3 separate regions of the Homo sapiens genome follow, and all the other regions are linked to region 1. The links are contacts of gene promoters, found by promoter capture Hi-C in blood cells and fetal thymus (Javierre and others, 2016). All regions are on one chromosome and are shown on one strand. The core of a region is centred on a gene start or on the middle of the fragment in contact, and the rest is flanking DNA. Distances in the headings are between cores, read along the strand shown. Region 1 holds the start of OSGEPL1-AS1 (OSGEPL1 antisense RNA 1). Region 2 overlaps STAT1 (signal transducer and activator of transcription 1). Region 3 overlaps GLS (glutaminase).

What was found. Contacts are between HindIII fragments. The CHiCAGO score rates a contact against its expected background, and 5 or more counts as called.
Region 2: a fragment that was not itself captured here is called in contact with the fragment with the promoter of OSGEPL1-AS1 in region 1 in 1 of 17 cell types (fetal thymus); the score reaches 5.7 in fetal thymus.
Region 3: a contact is called between a fragment that was not itself captured here and the fragment with the promoter of OSGEPL1-AS1 in region 1, in 1 of 17 cell types (fetal thymus). The highest score is 5.3, in fetal thymus.

The regions. Positions count from the first base shown.
Region 1 is chr2:189,760,135-189,765,026 of GRCh38, forward strand. OSGEPL1-AS1 (OSGEPL1 antisense RNA 1) reads left to right here and starts at 2,646. Exons shown (of 2, transcript NR_102429.1): 1 at 2,646-2,858; 2 at 4,721-4,892. It overlaps OSGEPL1 (O-sialoglycoprotein endopeptidase like 1), which reads right to left and starts at 2,658. Exons shown (of 9, transcript NM_022353.3): 1 at 2,551-2,658; 2 at 1,286-1,526. The coding sequence starts at 1,506. It also overlaps a transcript of ANKAR not described here and a transcript of ORMDL1 not described here. RefSeq lists enhancers at 2,141-2,300, 2,587-3,333. The HindIII fragment of the contact is 3,776 bases long and covers 1-2,733 here.
Region 2 is chr2:191,009,229-191,013,872 of GRCh38, forward strand. It overlaps STAT1 (signal transducer and activator of transcription 1), which reads right to left. Exons shown (of 25, transcript NM_007315.4): 2 at 4,297-4,450; 3 at 648-776. The coding sequence starts at 775. Among named protein-coding and RNA genes, the nearest start is that of STAT1, 2.6 kb to the right of the region's middle. RefSeq lists enhancers at 2,097-2,206, 2,507-2,596, 3,025-3,084, 3,125-3,184, 4,296-4,615. The HindIII fragment of the contact is 4,868 bases long and covers 1-3,684 here.
Region 3 is chr2:190,888,149-190,893,040 of GRCh38, forward strand. The region is part of intron 1 of GLS (glutaminase); the gene reads left to right. Among named protein-coding and RNA genes, the nearest start is that of GLS, 9.8 kb to the left of the region's middle. The HindIII fragment of the contact is 1,815 bases long and covers 958-2,772 here.

The DNA.
Region 1 (4,892 bases), core at 1,396-3,895:
TGGAGTCTCCTATGTCTACTTCTTTCTACACAGACATATTAACAATCTGATCTCTCTTTCTTTTCCCCACATTTCCCCCTTTTCTATTCGACAAAACCGCCATTGTCATCATGGCCCGTTCTCAATGAACTGTTGGGTACACCTCCCAGACGGGGTGGCAGCCGGGCAGAGGGGCTCCTCACTTCCCAGAGGTGGCGGCCAGGCGGAGGGGCCCCCACCCCTAAGACGGGGCGGCTGCCGGGCAGAGGCGCCCCCACCTCCCAGACGGGGCGGCTGCTGGGCGGGGGCGCCCCCCACCTCCCAAGAGTATTTTAATATATTCTAAATTAGCTACTAATGTAAAAAATCTGCAAATACATTAACAATCTGGATTTCCAGCCCGGCGCGGTGTCTCACGCCTGTAATCCCTGCACTTTGGGAGGCCGAGGTAGGTGGATCAAGAGGTCAGGAGATTGAGACCATCCTGGCCAACATGGTGAAACCCCGTCTCTACTAAAATGCAAAAAATCAGCTGGGCGTGGTGGCACGTGCCTGTAATCCCAGCTACTTGGGAGGCTGAGACAGGGGAATCGTTTGAACTCGAGAGGCGGAGATTGCAGTGAGCCGAGATCATGCCACTGCACTCCAGCCTGGTGACAGAGTGAGACTCTGTCTCACCAAAAAAAAAGAAAAAAAAAATCTGGATTTCCATTTTCCCTTGAAAATTATAATAATCTAATAACACAGGTCCTGCATTCCCACATGACAACTGGCTAGAGCTGAGTAGTGACCTCCTCCAGACATTTTCCACTTTTTATCTTGTCCATTTATTTAGGTAACCTGCCTGGTAGTCCTCTATAAACATCACAGTTTATAATCCTTGCACCATTCTATGCTTTAATACAACAGTGTATTATTATTTAAGTACTAATACAAGTTATATGTATAAATATGAATAGGATTTTTTTTTTCAATGACTAACAGTTTTCCTAGGACTTCAGCTGAGACCATGAAACATAGAAGTGGAGAAAAGAAGGAATGCATTACTGAAGGAAAATCAATAAATACGGAAGCTGGGAATGAGCTCAGTTTCTTTTGGCAACAGGATTAGTTAAGGTTGGGACCTTATTGTGAAGACCCTTAAAAGCCAGGATGAAGTGTTTGAGGTTTTCTATAGCAGTTATTAAAAGTGTTTGCAAAAAGGAATAAGACAGTAGCTCCTGAAAACTTTTATATATGACAAATACAAAAGAATGATTTTACTTTTTCCAAAAAAGTGGAAATGACTAAGATAATGTCTACTTACTTTAAATGAACTTCAGTTTGGGAATGTATTGCTTCTCCCAACACATTTCCAGTTTCATCCACCACAGCAGCTGCTGTATCATCACAACTAGTTTCAATTCCCAATACTATTTTATGAAGAAATAGTGTTCCAGGATGAAAATTAAAACTTCTTAAAAATTCATAAACTTTCCTTTTTGATGGTTTAAAAAAAACTCCTGCAGTCTTAGTCAAGATTAGCATACTTACTCTATAGATAATTCCTGAAAAAGAATTACAGAAACAACTTATTATTTGCAACTGACATTAGCCAGCTTATTTTTCAATATATAGTTTTACAGAATTACAGGAAAGTTTGTAAAAGTCACCAAAAGTTTGTAAAGGCTATAGCAACATGGGAATATAAATAATATTATGAATGAATATAATGTTCTCCAAGGGGGAAAACAGGGGTCAGATATAAAATTTTTTAGTATTATTATTACTTGCATGCTGTTCCTACCAAAAGACTTACTATTAAGACAGCTAATATAAAGTACAATAATTGATAGAGTCCTCTGAAAAGTGCTATTTATTTTTTGACAGCTAAAATTAAGACAAAATGTGGATTTTCTAAAAAGAATCAAACAACAAAGGCAGATGGAACAGATAAAAATACTGTTAATGTATTCCATCTCCTAAAAACATCTTTCAAAATAAAACTGGATCATTTGGTTCAAAAACAAGAGTTAACATAAACACACACACGCCAACTGCAACCTAACACCTATTTTATCCTTAATTGCAATCTTTGGAATTAAATCTCCACTTTTTGCTACAGGTTTTGTCATAACAAGGATCTTCCCAAATCCTTTTCCCCCAAAATAATAGCAGCCCATCACTAAAGCACACTAGTATTTTCACACTGCGAAGCACCTAATTTTATGCCCCCAGATCATCCGTTCTAAAACTTTCTGGGTGTTAAAGCAGGGCCTTTCTCCACCACACTAAAGGGACACGGCATCCCAGGGATTAGAGATGAGCGACCTATTTGCAGAAGGCAGTTGCGGGCAGTGCAGCCCAGACAGACACAACCTAGAGGAATTAGATTTGCATTAACAAAATCTGGACAAGGAGGATTGTACGAAGCACTACCCTTTCGGGCCAAGAAAGCTGCAGGCTGAACCCACGTGACTTGGGTAGCGCTGGTCTCCTGTCGGCTGTAAGGCGGCGACGGGCGCAAACTGGAACCGCTTTTCCAGGTGCGCAAAAGCGTCAGTGGGGTGAAGAGTGAGCAATTTCACCCACCTTCCACTTGGGCGGCAGTAGCTAGCACTTGTCTCCTTTCCCTACTAAAGACTGTCGACTGCCCTTATCGCTGCAGGAGAAAGCCCGAACCTGGCGCCCGGAAGTGATGTCATCGGAACTGTGCAAGGTCCCGTCCAGAGCTGGCTGCTGTTCCGCTAGCGAGCGGCATGCTTAGTGAAGAAAAGCTTAAAGGCCGTCTTTGCCCAAAACGCTCTCTGTGCGCACCTGCATTTCCCCCAGATTTGCAGGTGATGAGAGTTCTGTAAAATTACACAGCTAGTGACTGATCCAGCGGAGGCCGAATACAGGTTTGTCTGACTACACAACATCAAGTTCCAAACACTAAGCTACATTAAAAAGAAATTTTTTTTTTGCCCTTGGCTGGAATTTGGTTGCTACTGTGAGAAAAGGATGGGGTAGATTATTCGTCATTCATTTTTAAGGGAACTATCATCAAATCTAAACTTAGGGGTGAGGTACCTGATACTTTCATCGGAGAAATAGGATGGAATCTAGCGGCGCCCCCTAGCAGGGTTACCAAAGAACGGAAGTGTTTCTCATCGGACAGTGTAAACCGTTTCTCCCACTTCACTAGGAAGAAAGGGGCTGGCTTATTTTTACAATTAAAAAAAAAAAAAATCGGGAGACTGAGGCAGGAGAACTGCTTGAACTGGGACCCGGGAGGCGGAGGTAGCAGTGAGCCGAGATCGCGCCACTGCACTCCAGCCTGAGCTACAGAGCGAGACTCTGTCTCAAAAAAAAAAAAAAAAAAAAAAAAAAGGCTGTGGTAAATATTCAGTTGCCTTAAACCATCCTATTTTCATAATGCATTATGTTGTCCTTCCTTACTATGTACATGAAATTCAGCATGGTATGTTTTCAAAGTCTTGCACCTGCTTTTTTTTTTTTTTTTCTTTTATTGGTTTGTGAACTTTGTTTTGAACATTGGACAGATTTATTCCAAGAGTCAGGCTTTTCCCCTGCTGGTATTTAAGATTTTAGTAAGCAAGGACCTTAGAATCCACTGTTGTACAGGGCTGGCATATATACCTGCACTTTGCACGTTGTGAAGCTCTGGGTATAAAAGATGAGTAAATCCCATAACAACATGTTGGGAAGCCACAGAGTACAGTCTAGAGGTGGATACAGATAAATAAGTAAATAATTACCAGAATATGGTTGAGGTTTTTTATTTGGAACTTATGTTTTTCAAAAATTTCATTTATGTGTAACAATAATGATAAAGTGGCACTATGTACCAGGCACCTGCTGTAGATTAATTTCTTTCAAAATCCCATGAAATAGTTTCTGTCCTCATTTTACAGGCAACTGGGCCACAGAGTTTGGGTGCTTTGGAGGTCACACAACTAGGAAAAGCAAAGCTAGGATTAGAAGTCAGGACATCTGGCACTGGAGTCTGTTTTCTTAACTGCTAGAAGAGAAAATAACTCACATTTTCTCTAGGGTGCACTGTTGGCCTAAACAAGGGAAAAAAGAAAAATTAAAACCTAAAAGTTAAGAAAAATTAGTCATACGGTTAGAGAGGTCAGAGCTTATTTCTGTTATACACTGGAATCCAGTTTGAACATAAAACCTTTCACATCAGGTATTATTTTTCTTACAATTCCAATTATGTTCAGCAAGTATATCCCAATGCTCTTCTGTGCTGTCAAGACAAGCAAGATCCTATTGTGTGTGCTATCATTGGTAGATTCCTCGTCTAGGCACTCTTGGCCAGTGTTGAGTCCGAATGCTGTTATTATGTGAAACAGGAGAACTCTAGGGCACATTAGTATGGAATTTTATCTTTCCCTTGACCGAATATATGTAAAGTGGCACTTATACAAGTCCCATGTATTTAGCAAAGATATACATTTTTTATGTTCTCTATTGTAACATAGGAGAGGGTTATTGGGGGAAAGGCATGTATGCTCTCTGAGGCCTGTCTGTACTTTTATGCAGATAGTTAGAATGCCACTCATGGGCATTCTCAAAAAATATGGCCTATGTAAGTTCAACATAAATCGAGAGTTCCAGCTGAATCTAGATATGCTTATTTGGTCTCAGATATTGTGTGTCTAGCTTTCCATTTGTAGCCTTCAGAGGAAAATTTTATTATTAATACATATTATATATTAAAACATATAAGAATCTTTCTTTTTTTTTTTAGATGGAGTCTCACTCTGTTGCCAGGCTGGAGTGCAGTGGTGCCATCTCAGCTCACTACAACCTCCACCTCCGGGGTTCAAGCGATTCTCCTGCCTCAGCCTTCCGAGTAGCTGGGACTACAGGTGCCTGCCACCATTCCCAGTTAATTTTTGTATTTTTAGTAGAGATGACAT
Region 2 (4,644 bases), core at 1-2,500, 1.2 Mb after region 1:
ATTTTCTTCTTTTGAAACTGACATTGCTTTTAGCAGCAGTTTATGTGGTATTTCTCTTATGTGCAATTAGCACAAAAAATTCTAAACTCTAAGAGATTGTGCATGACAGTGTTCATGGTGACTATCTCTGAAGGGGGAAAAGTCAACAGGGGACCCTTCACTTTCTATGTCAAATACTTTCAGGACGTTTTTAAATTAGCAAATAATAAATTTTAAAGTAGAACACCTATCAGTTAAAAAAAATCCCCTTAATTTTACTACCTTCTTCATATTTCTAATCAATGTTTAACCATTAATTTGGCTTTATTTCTTTTAAATTACTTCTTTCTATAGTCTGGATCCTAAGTTGGAAAATAATCGGTGTCAGTATTCCGTAACTTGTCCAAAGCATTTAGGAATATCTATCATAAATTAAATTTGGCAAAACTGTATAAAAGTGCTTAATGACTAATATACTTAACTTTGTTGAGACACTTTTTGGCTCAACTTTGTTGAGTCATTTTTTAAATCAACAAACTTTTCTACAACAAATAATTCCAGTGGCCATTGATGGAATTCATCTTCCAGTAAACATGGCCCCAAGTCACTTAATCAACCAGTACTTTTAAGGTGTAAACTTCTTCTTCTGTCTAGTGAATTTTCCTTACCAGTCTTGCTTTTCTAACCACTGTGCCAGGTACTGTCTGATTTCCATGGGAAAACTGTCATCATAAAGCTGGTGAACCTGCTCCAGGAATTTTGAGTCAAGCTGCTGAAGTTCGTACCACTGAGACATCCTATAGGGAAAAAGAATATACATTCTTTCTATGTATATGGAAACCATAGCTCCAAAGAAAGCCTTCCTAGCATCAGGTTGTACTCTTAAATATCTTGCTTAATCCAAAACATAGTTTGTCCCAGGAATATTTTATTTAAATGGCATTTATAGTCTAAAGCCTGTTTTTAATTGAGTTTGGGGATGAACTTTTTTTCTCCTCCACGAAACACATCTTCATGTCTTTGCTTATTGTCAACATATCAGGGCAGCCTTCTCTGGCCTCTTTTATTTAAACTGCAACCACCTCCCACCCTGGAAACATGCTCTCTCTTTTCCCTGGTTTATTTTTCTTCATAGTACTTACACCACCATCTGACCTACCACATATTTTATTTTCATTATTGTCTGTTTTCACCACTTGAAGGGATGGATGTTGGTGGAGGATTCTGTGCACTGGTGTATCCCTAGAACAATGTCAACCACATAGTAGGTATCCAATAAATATGCCTTTAAAATGAGTTTGTGATTTTATCAAATAAATACATGAAAAACATTATTTTAATTAGACTTGCTTTAAGACAAATCACAAGACTCTCCCAAAATTGCTCTCCTACAAATCACAGTACATTTGTAATTTAACTCAAATATTTTCAAACTTCTGTTTTATATTTATGATTCATATGGTAAAATTCATTATTTTTCTTATACACATTTAAAAAGATATATTTTCTTCTTTGCCTACTACAAACAATAAATCTGGCATAAAGAAGTAATGATTTTTAAAGATTAAAACATCATTAAATGTAATTTAAAAGGATAAAGTAACACTTAGCTTTTTGGATAACTGTTAAGTCCATTTTTACATAGTGATCCTAAAGATTCAAAATCACAACAAAAACTTGATATAAGCAAGTCCTAAAATTCATTAGGAAAACGGAGAGTCTCCCATGACCATCATGTAACTTAGGATTTATATCAGCACACAGGTGGCAATATGCAGAGCAGACACAAGTGAATCTTGTCCTGCCAGACCTCTGGGGAAGGAGTCTGGATTTTCAAGTAGGGCATGGAAGAGTGTGTATGCATACTTGTAGCCGAGCACATGTATGCAGGCATGAGGTCACGCCTACTCCACAAATGTCCTTCCAAAGGAGTGTGAGGAAATGTCTGGCCTATAAAGCTAGTTATCCTCATATATACCAGTAGAAACGGACCCAAGCCCAGCCCCTTGGCACTCCTGCTGAAGCAATTTGATTTTTCAGTTCAGTTTTATTTTACCTGAGTGGAAAAATCTGTGGCTGTCTCCCTCCCTGCTTGGTAACTAATAAGGATCTACCTAAAGCAGATATGCTGGACCGTCAGGCAATGGGAGCTGCAACGCCTCTTATTAGCCAAGCGAACCCAGGTAACTTACTCCCCTATCAACAAGGTGTGTGTGTGTGTGTTTAGTAGACAGGAACTTGCTCTGTCATCCAGGTTGGAGCGCAGTGGCAGTGGAGCGCAGTTCACTGCAGCCTCCAACCCCTGGACTAGAGCAATCCTCCCACCTCAGCCTCCCAAGGAGCTCAGACTGCAAGTGATATGGTTTGGCTCTATGCCCCCACCCAAATCTTACCTCGAATTGTAATATAATTCCCATGTGTTAAGGGCGGGACCAGTGGAGGTAACTGAATCATGGGGGCAGTCTCCCCCATGCTGTTCTCGTGATAATGAGTGAGCCTCATGACATCTGATGGTTTTATAAGCCACTGGCATTTCCCCTGCTTGCATCTATTCTCTCTCCTGCTGCCCCGTGAAGAGATGCCTTCTGCCATGCAGAACTGTGAGTCAATTAAACCTCTTCACTTTATAAATTACCTAGTCTCGGGCAGTTCTTTATAGCAGCATGAGAACAGACTAATACAATAAACACGAGCCAAGAAGCCTGGCTAATTTTTAAATTTTCTGTAGAGACAGCCTCTCGTTATGTTTCTGAGGCTGGTCTCAAACACCTGACCTCAGGCAATCCTTCCACCTCAGCCTCCCAAAGTGCTGGGATTACAGGCGTGAGCTTCCGCACCCTGCCACAGTTGGTTCTTAAGGCTGGTTGAGCTAGTACATATGTAGCACCTGGCACAGAAGAGGTGAATTAATAAGCTCATGTTTGGGCTGGCCAGGTGGCTCACGCCTGTAATCCCAGCACTTTCGGAGGCCAAGGTGGGCGGATTGCCTGAGCTCCGGAGTTCAAGACCAGCCTGGGCAACATGGTGAAACCTTGTCTCTACTAAAATACAAAAAAAAATTAGCAGGGCATGGTGGTGTGCACCTGTAGTCCCAACTACTCGTGAGGCTGAGGCAGGGGAATTGCTTGAACCCAGGAGGCGGAGGTTGCAGTGAGCTGAGATCGCGCCACTGTACTCCAGCCTGGGAGACAGAGAGAGACTCTGTCTCTAAAAAAAAAAAACAATGAATAAATAAGCTCATGTTCACAAATCTGGAGTCAGTCTCATCTACTCACAAAACCTGTTACCAACTCAGGGAGTGGCATGGCCATCTCCCAGTCACTGAGCTCAAATCTCAGATTTAGGGTTGATTCCTTCCACTCCATCCCAAGACCTGCTCCTTCCTGTCTCCAACATTCTACCTTCCCAGTCCAGCCTCTGCTGCCCACAGATTGGACCACATCAATCTCCTGTGCAAAAATCCTATGATCTGTCCATTCCTAGGCAGATTTCCACCCCACCCCATCTTCATCCATCAACAAAGCAACCCAGTCACCAAATCATTTACTGTTTTTCAACTGTGCCCAACATTTCTGCTTTGCTCCAGCTACTCGCCCTTGGAAACAGCCTCTCCACAAATTTTTGCGTCTCTAAATCCTATAGCATTCAAAGCTATGTACAAAAGCCCCTTCTTTCATAAAGTTGTCTGAGACTTACTCACAATTAAGCTTTCTTTGACTTGCGTCTCACTGAATTCTGTACCTCTATTAGAGCATCGGTTCCAGTTTTCCTTGTAAAGCTCTGTGATGCCTCCAGAGTCCCCGGCGGGGGAAGGTGGGTGGGGAGGGGGTAGAGTAGTGGGGTATTTTGCTTTTTAACATCTTATGGACCTTGGACAGTGCCCTGCATATACTATGTGCTCGAAACAGTTTGTTGAATTGAAATTATGTATATTTCAGACGGAATTAGAAAGTAAAAAGCAAACCATATTATGATCTCACAAGTGTGAGTCCAGCATCCTCATTAAGCAATGGTTGCACAATGGACTGTGCTGGAGGCTCAAGTCCTGTTTCTGTTCTATGAAAATAACTCCTTATCTATACAAACAACATTCAAAGCACAATCAACCACACCTCTGCATACCTACCACAGAACTCTTCAGTACCGGCCAGAAATTTTTTTAAGACTATATTATTTTGGGGTGGGGGGTCTGCAAAAACTAAACATCACTTTTAAACTCTAGGAAGACATTAAGCCCTTCCATCTTTGAACATAGAAACATAATTAAGATTCCGAAGTCATGTACTCATTCATCTGATTCCATGAACATTTACTGACCTGCCACCTTGTGCCCCAACAAGGGCCTGGGGATTCAACCAAAGGAGCAGCTACGCACAGCACGTTAGGTGCCAAGACTGTCGAGGTTATATACACAGAGTGCGAACGTTAACCTAGACAGCTCTCGAGGATGGCATACAGCAAATGAAACTTTCTGCGAAAAGAAGAAAACGTGACTGATGGAAAGGGGTGGAAACGGGAGAAAGTGACGGTAAATGGGAAGGTGCAGTGCCTTCTAGAGGAAAATTATATTTCACAAGTCCTCTTCACTGCCAGAGCACGACTGGCAAGGACAATCGTGCTGAGCAGTGCCATCTCCGAGAACAGGTGGCACTGCTCGCACTTGGA
Region 3 (4,892 bases), core at 615-3,114, 1.1 Mb after region 1:
TTTTGAACTTGTAAATCTCTACTGTCTACTCTTCTAATATCCTGATTCTGGTTGTATAAGAACAGTAAGCACCATTACATTGAAAGAAAAGTATGAAAATAGGTTATGTATGAATTTGCACAGCTCCTGTTTATCAGCATTGTCTAATCATATTCACTGGTACCCTTAAACATCAAACTTTAAAAATTTAAAACTATGCTTGATATATCTCCCTAGTAAATGTTACATATTTCTCTGCCATATTAAAACATTGTAATCAATAGAGTTTAACATTTCTTGTTCAACTTATGTGTATTTTAAGGATGCATTATTATACTGCACTGTAATACAGTGATGCTGTAAGACAAGTGCTGGCACACTTTCCCTGAAAGGCCAAATAGTAAATATTTTCAGCTTTTGGGGTTCTCTAGTCACTACTACAACTTCTCAGTTCAGTGGTGGTAGCAAAATAGCTGCAAACAATAGGTAAATAGATGTGGCAGTCTTCCAATAAAACTTTATTTACAAAAAGAGGAGGTCCCTGCTGTAGTTTGCGTAGCCCTACACTAAAATATATTTATTGGTAAGTTCTCTCATGCCTTGATTGGTTCTGCTTTAACCAGTACTCTTAAGGGTGGGTTTGTTCTTTTGTGGATTTTTGTATCTTGTATCAGTTGACTGTTCTTCATGTCTCTACTTTAGCTATCCTCCTTCACTCTTACCTTCTGTATCCAGTTCTGCTTAGCTTTTTCAAAAAATTGTGGTTAAATATACATAACATAAAAATTACCACTTTAACCATTTTTAAGTTCCCTAGTTCAGTGGCATTAAATACTTCTGTTAGTTTTAGAACCCAGATGAATATGCTAATGTGTAAAATAAAAGTATGTAAGTTGTGAGTGAATAAAGTTTATGATCTCACTTTAGTGTAGTGATTTGGAGGACATCTATTTTTAGCAACTCAAAAACTGAGAATTAAGCTTGGAAGTAACTTTAAAGAACATTTAATTCCAGCTCATTTTACGTATTATATAAGCTGCCCGCAGATATTAAATGACCTAAACAAGTTCAGACAGTATTAGGACTTGTTTTGATTTTTTATTTTTCATCTATTAGCAGCAAACTAATTCAATTTATAGAGTTAATTTTTTTAGATTGAGGATTATAAGAGATCTTACAAACCCTTCTCCCCAGCTGCTGCTTTCTTCTCTTCTGTTACATACTCCCTATAGGTTGTTGTTATTCATCTCTACCTGAATACTGCCTTCACAAGGGAGTTCACTCCCTTAGAAGGCAGCCCATTCCGTTTTCATAGCTGTTTCATTTTTCCTTATGTGTGGCTGAAGTTTTTCATTAACTTCTACCTATATATGTTAGTTATTCTGAACAAGTTGTCTATAGTGGTATCAGAGTGATTGCAGTGACAGAATTCATATAGTATCTGTATTATTCCATCTAGACTGATATATTAAAGGATACTTGGCTGAAGAAATGAGTTATTGGAAAAACTAACAGAGTTGGATGTTATAGACTTGATCTCCCCAGATCCTAGTCTTCCCACCCGAGACAGCCAGACTGCCTTTTGGGTCAAACTTCTGAAGTTGTGCAAACGTATGGACAAATTACCATGAGCTGACAGGGGCAGCCTGACCATTTCCTCACATAAAGTGGCTTTTGTGCTTTTTACTTTGGTGTGCTATTAAATGAATTTGTGCTATAAAGTCCAGTCAAAACAGCAGCACTAATTGAATATAATCTCATCTTTGCTTTGACAGGATGCAGTTTTATCAAGGCAGACCAGTTTAGTTCTCTTATGTGCATTTTGGTTAGAAATTTATTATTGTTTAAGAATTACAGATATTATTCCTAAAATAGAGTGCTAACCACTGAGAGCATGAGGTGGCAGAGCAGGAAGAGTCTGGAACTGGGAACAAAGGATGAGCTTTGTAGGACTAATTCTGGTCCAGCCACTTAAGATTTATGTGACATTGGACATTCTGCTTGACTTGGATACTCTTAAAACAAAATTTTTTTTAAATTTAAAATTTAAATTAACATTTTCTTTCTTTTTTTAGAAATGGAATCTTGCTGTGTCACCCAGGCTGGAGTACATTGGTGCCATTATAGCTCACTGCAGCCTTGAACTCCTGGGCTCAAGCAGTCCTCTTGCCTCAGTCTCCCAAGTAGCTGGGACTGTAGGTGCATGCCACCACACTCTTCTAGGACTCTCTTTTATCTGTACACTGGGGACAATTAACCCACCTTAATTTACCTCATAGGGTTTTAATATGATAGAAAGTGAGAGTCCTTTTTTAGCAGTAAAGCCTTAAAAGATGTAAGTTTTTATTTTTAAATTCAACCAATGATTAGCCTTGGGGCAAAATCACTTGGATGATAACTAGAATTTGTCAATTTGTTAGACTTAACATTCATTCTCATATGCTATTTTACTATATGGTCAGCCACCATCAATTCAACTTTCTATCTAACAGGTTTATTAATCTGCCAGTTTGCTGGTGTTGATAGACGGTTGTTATCAGTCAGCTCACTATAAATTCAAAATGATACACTGATTTTAAAACAACCCTGAATTATCATCTGAAGGATCATTATTCTTAAATGAAGGCATAAAGACTAGCAAATCCTTTTGTATTGTGTTATTATTAGGCCTCATTTTTTTTAATCCCACTTGAAAAGACAGTTTTTCATTGTCTCATAGGTTTACCATACTATACTATGTGTTTTAAGAGTTATGCGAAAAAAAAAATAAGAAAGACTTGACCCCAGCCTTGAAGCTTTATAGTTTGGGGAGGTTAGGTAATATGAAATGTTATTTAACAAAATAAGACCATACAGTTGGTTTCAATTATTTTCCTCTGTTCATTTTGTAGTTCTTAGTAAGGATTTTTTTTTTATTTTCTTCCTTTCATTTGATAGTTTTTTATTTATAAGATTTTTGAACTGATGAAGATGAGTTTGCCTTGTTGCTCCTAATTACAGATTAGAAACTTTCTTGATTTCCCCTACCGATTAAGGCAAAATTAAATACTTCATCTGTACTTGCTAATAAAATACTTTTTGAAAAACACTTCTACCATAGTATTTGTCTCATGGCTTTAGTCATATTTCTCCTAGACCACAACCTTACTTTAGGGATCTTTATTGCTATTGCTTGGCATATAATAAGTGGTACAAGAAAAGGACAAAACTTAGTGATACCAGAGAATGCTAAAGAGTATAGAGAATCTGGTGGGGGCAAAGTCCTGTGAAACAATTGAAATGATCATTGATAGCTTAAGATTTAGGGAGAGGAAGGTTTTACACAGAAGGCATGATAGGTTAAAAAAAAAAAAGATGAGATAGCACTTATTTACAGGTCATTGAGTCTAGTCAATTACATTGGGGAATTATAAGGATTAAGTTAGGAATAAATAGTGTAAAACTAATTTATAGAGAACTGCATACCAGACTGAGGAGTATGAATTCCCCCTTTGGTATGGGGAAACTAATTTGGTCAGTGGGGTAAGCAAAGACAGTTCCTCTTTTCATGTTGCAGAAGTTGGCCCTGCATTTAAACTTAATGTAGATTTTGGAAGGTAGTCTCCTCATTTACCTCAGATATATATATTCAGAATATATATATTCTCAACACTAAAAAATTAAGTATTCATATAATAGCCTATAGGTAGAAACAGGCACCTTAATTCACACATTCTGTGCTCTAGCTGTTTTTTGTTCTTTATAAACACTAAGTGAATGCTTACTTTCATCCCTTTGGTCTGTTTGCCAGAAATCTTTTTCTGTTGCCATGCTTCCAGCTCTTACCCATCTTTCAGGTTTAGCTCAGATTCCACCTCATCTAAAAAAAAGCTTGACCTTATTAGACCACAGTGAAGTAGTTTTCCAAAGTCTGGATGTCATAGATCTATTCTTGTAATTCCTCATTTTATGTACATGTCTCCTACTTCTTCTAGACTGTAAATGATGTCTAACATGATGTCATACATGGCATGGGATTTTTCTTCTTTTTCATTAAGAAATTATTTTTTAAGACAGTTAAAGGCTAAAGTAGGGGAAGGAATGGGTAAAAGAAGAAACAATATGATGGTAAGATGATCTTAAAGGCAGCATTTAGAAAGGAAACGAGAGAGACAGTATAAGTTGGAGAAGAAGTAAAAAGGTGAGAAATAAGGATTTTCCTTCAGATTATCTTCTGTTATATCCTATTTGAATTGCTGAATATCATAACCATTTTATGTTTTTCTCTTCAGGGGAATCTGGAGGATTCATTTGGGTTATTAATAATTGTTGATGATAAGATTTGAAAGATTGCTATAATCCTATTTGTCATTAAAACTTAAATACTTCTCTCAAGGATTTCCTAGTTACTATATAGTTACCAAAAGCTATAGTTTTTAGCTTTTGAATTTTAATGAAAAATACATTATTGTGAAGAATTACCAGAAAGAATTAATTTAGGGAGAGAAAAGGGGGGTTAAGGCATGAATGATCTTGAGTAGTTTCTGCCTTGTGGAAAGTTTGAGGAGAATATTTGAGTATGTTTGTTCGCCAGACTGTTGAAGCGAATTCATTCTCAGATCAAAATCTGAGGTTTCAAATGCTGAAATAGGTAGTAATTTCTTTTTATCAGTTTTGACAGCTTATTTTGTGAGCTTATTTTTTAGGGCTGGCTTAAATTCTTTCCCCTATAGATAAAAATTAATTTCTTGTTTAAAAGCAAGTAAACATTTGTCTTTTTTTGCTAGCTTTGGCAATAACGTGGTCATTTTAATTTTTTTTCACTATGTGCCATAAGCTAAAAAAGTGTATATTTTACGTTATTTACATAGCTTTTAGGCAAAGCAAATACCATTTACTTGTGTGATAAATACATAGAAAGCTTATTCTGCAGT